Linked DNA regions of Homo sapiens: region 1 is linked to region 2. Evidence: promoter capture Hi-C in 16 types of primary human blood cells and fetal thymus (Javierre and others, 2016). All regions are on one chromosome and are shown on one strand. Each heading gives the region's core, a stretch centred on a gene start or on the middle of the fragment in contact. The rest is flanking DNA. Distances are from core to core; before and after follow the strand shown. Region 1 has its middle 10 kb from the start of RTP3. Region 2 holds the start of CCR9 (C-C motif chemokine receptor 9).

Region 1 (3,116 bases), core at 585-3,084, 620 kb before region 2:
GCAGAAGAGGAGCTGACTGCAAGGAGACAAAGGCTTGCTGGAGATTTTATAGAATGGAACTTGGGCTGGTTGATAATGCCAAGGCAGCAGAGAGCTTAACTTGCATTCTTCTGTCAGCCGGAGTGTTTGATAAATTGAGGCATTTGATGGTAAGCAGGAATTTTTTGAGTTATGTACGTCATCAAGACATATGGCCATATGTCCTGCACAGATAAATCTTGTAACTAAAGGAGATAGGAGTGACTTAGGGATAAAAGACTTATCTTTATGGCCCAGGACATATGGCCATATGTCCTGGGCCATAAAAAAAGGCAGACCTATAGCTCATTTGCTTTATCTCTTTGTTTTCCCCTGGTCCCACCAGCCTGACTCCTTTTCCCTAATTAGGACTTCACATTCCCCTTATAAACCTATATACAGATGGCCCCTGACTTAGAATGGTTCAATTTATGATTATTTTTCACTTTACAATGATGCAAAAGTGATATATATTTAGTTGAAACCATACTTTAAAATGGGAATTTTGATCTTTTCCCAGCTTAGCCACAGGCAGTAAGATACTCTTCCCTATTGCTATTCTGACCATGTTAAAGTGGGCCAGGGTAGGCTAAGCTAAGCTACGATATTTGGTGGGCAGGGTGTATTAAATGCATTTTTGACTTACGATATTTCTACTTATGGTGGGTCTATCAGGACATAACCCCATCATAAGTTGAGGAGCATCTGTATATCCCAGTGGTTCTGTTTCTGCGGAGAACTCTGATTACACAGAAGGCTACTCTCAACCACATATGACATGAATTTAGGAAGTGATGTCTCAGCCCGTAAGAAGGGGAAAATCTTGTAACTGAAGGAGATAGGAGTGACTTAGGGATAAAAGACTAATCTTTAGGAGAAAACTCCTTGGGGGAATTCCTTGAAGAATAGTGACCAAATTATTTTTAAGAAAAGATCATTTCCGGCCGGGCGCGGTGGCTCACGCCTGTAATCCCAGCACTTTGGGAGGCCGAGGCGGGTGGATCATGAGGTCAGGAGATCGAGACCATCCTGGCTAACAAGGTGAAACCCCGTCTCTACTAAAAATACAAAAAATTAGCCGGGCGCGGTGGCGGGCGCTTGTAGTCCCAGCTACTCGGGAGGCTGAGGCAGGAGAATGGCGTGAACCCGGGAAGCGGAGCTTGCAGTGAGCCGAGATTGCGCCACTGCAGTCCGCAGTCCGGCCTGGGCGACAGAGCGAGACTCCGTCTCAAAAAAAAAAAAAAAAAAAAAAAAAAAAAAAGAAAAGATCATTTCCTACGTTAAACTTGAACTGTTTCTAGCCCTGTGTTACTATTAGCATATTTTGTTACTTCCATGAGTTCAAGAAAATAAGAAAACCCAACCCACTAACCAGTGTTTGGAGTCACCCAAGCAGGTCTGGTCTTCCCTAGTCACCATGTTCTCTCTGTGTTTATCAGCAAATATTAGTTGCCTTCCTCAGAACCTCACTACCAAGAATTCTGCAGGGGAGTAAACTGTCATTGGCAAGCAGGTCCCCTATCATGCCACCTGGTCTGTGAGCCTTTGGGTTTTCAGGTGGCCCAGACATGCTCCTGTATATGCCCCTTCCAGGCAGACAGGAATGTGCTCTGATGGCGGGAACACTGTGTCAGACTATGGTGTCCTCTGTTTAGTGGGGAACACAGGGCCAGGATTTTAAACCAGGGCATGGTTCTCAAAGTATGGGACCACTGGGCACTTCTGATTCTCCTACCACATTCATGGGAAAGGGGGAAGATACCAGCACAGCCCCATGTGGTGAACATCACTTATTTCACCAATACAAGTAGTTTCTGATATGTCTTATGCAAATTAACAATGACCCCTTTGCAGAAATATTTGAAACTTAGCACAGCTTTCTTGAGTGAGGATCCCAATTAGTTGCTAATGAATGCTAATTGACCACCTCTGGGATGGGGGCAACAGCCCACAGGGTATAGATGGCACAGAAACACACACACACACCCCAGTATCTATACTGAAGTGTTTAGAAGCAAATCACAATGAATGATTGGGTGTTCTGTGAAAAGGCTGTGCATGGAAAATGACCCCCAAATGACACAGGATCCAAGAAACCAAAGAAAGAGGCAGACAAATCCAGTTTGTCGGTATTGGGTGATTTTTTAGGGGGAATTTACAGATAGAAGTGTGGTCTTTTGCGGTTGCAAGACAGGCAGATCTCCGCATTGCGACCCTCCAGACCCAGGGCTTATATCTTGGGTAAAAGGTGCATGTGCTGTAGAAGGAATGTGCAGGATGCTACAGGCATCTCAGGAAACTGAGATTGGAGGAAACTTAAAATGAATATGTGTTCCTACATAAACATCCAGGAGTTCAAGACCACCCTGGGTGACAGAATGAAACCTTGTCTCTACCAAAATAATAATAATAATAATAATAATAATAATAATAATAATGTGGCTACTGAAAACATTTAAGTTACCTATGTGGCTGACATGCTCTAACTCTACTAGATAGCACTGCCAAAATGAAGGTGATGTTTATAGAAGAGGAAGGAAATTCTCTAAGTTGGCTGGCTTTGCGTTCACCTCTACTTCCATATTAGAAGACAGTAGCCTTGACTGTATGTGAGAAATTTGACAATTCTATTGAGATTTTGGAATAACAACTGCAAAATTCTTTCTGATCCTGGCCACTGCAGAGTAGCTAGGTTTGGACCCTTCCTATCACCAAAAATAGCTATAAAAGCTAGGCAAAAACAAGAAAACAAAGGATGAGATGCACTGGAGAGCAACAAGCATGGATTGGCTGTGAGGAGCTGGTCCTCTGGAGGAGGGACGCACATAAGGCAAGCCCCATGTGCCCCGGGTTTACTCGAAGACAGTTTCTGAATTGCAGCCCAGGAGATAAAGCAAAGCAAAAAGTGATTATTTCAGTTGACTGAGGAGACAGAAGTCAGAATTTGAGGCTGCCTAGGCACCTGAAATTTAAAGGCAAAATCCCAGAAAGAAGGGAATTGAAGAGAAGAGGCTCAAAATGCTGCATTCCATTTTTCTTTCATTGGCTGATTACCAAGATGTGCTGTTCTAAGGGAAAACAAAGCCAGGCTCTGGGAG
Region 2 (3,208 bases), core at 290-2,789:
CTCTAACATTCTTACGTAGCCAACATGAAAATCAGCATGGGGTTATTGTGCACACAGCATCTCCCCACACTTATAGCCTCTGATGCTTACAGCACTAACATCAAATCAGATACTAACATGAGTCAGGAATGCAGGTCCTTACTTTGAACTTTGTACAATTTGCTACACGGAGCTTGAATCATCTCTTACATTTTTTCATAGCTCTGCTTTTTGTTCCCTACACGAGGCAGGGTCTCTGAGCCATCTATCAGATCCATCCACTCACCATGCCTGGATCAGATGCCTGCCAACCGCCCAGCAGGGGCTGCACAGGGCCCAGGGGCTCCCAACACAAGCCTGTGAGTGAGGCCTACACAAAGAGGCTTCAGAACAGATAAGCAGATATTGGAAGAAAAGGACTCCGAAATTCCAGATGCTGAAATAGTAAATTAGCTTTTGCTCGTTCAGGAAAGGGAGTAAGGAGATGGGATCCCACAGACTGGCTGCTGCACAGCCCTTCCGGTTCAGCACACAGTGACCACTCTCTGGATGGACTTGCCAGCCGTCTATGGAGTAACAGCTAATTCAGAACTAAAGAGGGTAGGTGTGTTTGAAAAGGCAAACCAGCATCCACTGATGAGTCATTTAAAATAACTTTTTGCTTTACTCTGATCATAAAGGAGTATTTTTACAATGCACAAAAAATCCCCAAAATGCCAACATACATAATATAGAAAATAAAAACTCCTGAAGCACCCTTTCCTAGTTTAGCCATTGTTAAGTTTCTGAGATACTTCCTTTCTGACTTTTTCTCTGTAACACAACCTCACACACACACACACACACACACAGACACACACGCACTTAATAGAAAGGAAATCAGACTACACATATAATCTTCTATCTTGCTTTCTAATTGCCCATCTTTCATGGATCACCTTCCATGCCAATTCAACATAGAACCGTATCATAGAATTGGATGGCTGCTGTGTATTCCATTGTCTAGATACATCACAATTCATTTAACCATTCGCCTCCTGATGCATAGTTTCCTTGTTTCCAGTTTTTCACTGCTACAAAGAATCCTTTCCATGGGGCAGTGTCTCAGACTCAAGGACCTCATGGGTGTGTCCTTTACCCCTGGCCACCATCTTGTCCCCCAGCACCTGCTTCTCCTTCCTTTAAGGTATAAATCACAGACTGCCTTAAGCCTAAGCTTCATGTATGTGAAGGGGGAGGGAGTTTTATTACTCGCCCTACAAGAAACCTGGGTTGGGCATCACCAATTCCCATTTACCTTCCTGGAAGTTTCTAGAAAAGTGCCTGGTGCCCATGACCTCTGAACAAATGAGTGCAAGCCCAGGTTTTAGAAGCCATCATAGCAGCACACAACTGAGGGCCAAGATGACACTGGGTTGGGGGCAACAAGAAGAAGAGCAATACTCACTGTGGAGGGCGATGCAACTCTCCCTGGGACAGCAGGCACCACCAGCTCTCAGTGTCTGGGGAAAGAGCTGGGTTGCTCTCTGCCTGGGATGAGGGGCAGGCTTTGTGGGTTCTGAGCAGGCAGCTACCCGATAACAACACGAGAAAGGAAGCCAGGCCACCCCTGCCTGTGTTGTCACTGGTGGGGTAGCCCAAGAGGGTGGGGAGTCACCTGTGTAGCTTCCAGCAATCAGCGGAGTCAATCATTTGCAACCAGAAACAAAAAGCTGAAAACTGCTGGGATAAGGGGAAACTGTCTCATCTGAAGACGCACATACAGACTGATGATCTAAGAGCAAATTCTCTTCCTAGACAGCACAGCTGCTTACAGGGAATGGGGAAATTGGAGGATCCCATCGAGAGAAGTCAGCCTTGTCAGGCTTGCCAGAGGTGCACACTGATGAGATTTCTTTAGGTGGTGTCACCTGAGCAGGCCTGTATCAGATTACCACCCAGTGGCAGATGTAGCACTATCCATCGCAACATACCTTTTCTGGCCTTGACAGACGTACCAGAACCCGGAGGGCTGTGCTATCCAACACAGTAGCTACTAGGCAGATGTGCCTATTTAAATTCAAATTAATTAAAATGCTAACTAGGGCCAGTGCAGTGGCTCACCTCTGTAGTCCCAGCACTCTGAGAGACTGAGGCGGGCAGATCACTAGGCAGAGCCTAGGAGTTCAAGAACAGCCTGGACAACATGGTGAAACCTCATCTCTACAAAACACACAAAAACAATTAGGCAGGCATGGTGGCCCATGCCTGTAGTCCCAGATACTCAGGGAAGCTGAGGTGGAAGGATCAGGAGGCAGAGGTTGTAGTGAGCCAAGATTGCACCACTGCACTCCACCCTGGGCAACAGACTGAGACCCTGTATCAAAAAAGAAAAATGTTTTAAGTGTTAACTAGTTTCTCAGTCATGCCAGGTACATTTCAAGTGCTCAATAGCCACATGCAGCTAGTGGCTATCCCAATGGACAATGCAGATACAGAACCTGTCCATCGTCGCCAACAGTGCTATTGAAAGGCACTGCTTTAGAAAGTCTGCCTGTGAGATGTAGCTAGGAACACATGGAGTGCTGGAAAGCCACAGACACCTTCAAATTGGGGCAAATCTAGTAAGGTTTTGCACATCAGATACATTAACAAAGATAATACAATAAATTGTATTAATTACAGGTGTTTTGGTAAAACTTTGAAAAAAGCTAAATATACAAAATATTGCATTTTTAATGAAGATCACAGACGAAGTCTTCCCATCCACTGCTACAGTGGGGACTTCAATCCTGATGTGATTAATGATTTCCTGTCATTGTTATGACAAAGATCCCTTTTATATATTTGTTCTGGGGGAAAATCATGACTACACTCTTGTGGATGTTAATTTCCACCTCTTGGTGTATTGATTGTCCCGAGGACTCAATGCCGCTCTGTCATGGCGTGGTACTCCCAGGCGCATGTCCCCTTCATCACCCTCAGTTCCCGTAGAGCAAAGGGATGCAGAAGGTGCACTTGGGTTTATTGTCTAAATGGAAAAAGGCCAACAAATAGGTCATCTGAAAGGTAGAGGGCATGCACAGTAAGAACGAAAGAGGTGTCTGATTCATCAGCCTTAAGGAACGGCGGTGCGAGGGAGCCGTGAAATTCCCTTCCCTCGGCGGGCGCTCATTGCAAATAAATGGTGTCTGAAACTATACATAGCTGAGAACCAGCCAGATGCTCTGGCATCTCACTCCTCCCTCTC

What was found. Contacts are between HindIII fragments. The CHiCAGO score rates a contact against its expected background, and 5 or more counts as called.
Region 1: a contact is called between a fragment that was not itself captured here and the fragment with the promoter of CCR9 in region 2, in 1 of 17 cell types (neutrophils). The highest score is 5.7, in neutrophils.

Annotation. Positions count from the first base shown.
Region 1 is chr3:46,506,479-46,509,594 of GRCh38, reverse strand. No RefSeq gene overlaps it. Among named protein-coding and RNA genes, the nearest start is that of RTP3, 10 kb to the right of the region's middle. The HindIII fragment of the contact is 7,986 bases long and covers 1-3,116 here.
Region 2 is chr3:45,884,874-45,888,081 of GRCh38, reverse strand. It overlaps CCR9 (C-C motif chemokine receptor 9), which reads right to left and starts at 1,539. Exons shown (of 3, transcript NM_031200.3): 1 at 1,427-1,539. It also overlaps a transcript of LZTFL1 not described here. RefSeq lists a promoter at 1,524-2,523. The HindIII fragment of the contact is 2,128 bases long and covers 1,198-3,208 here.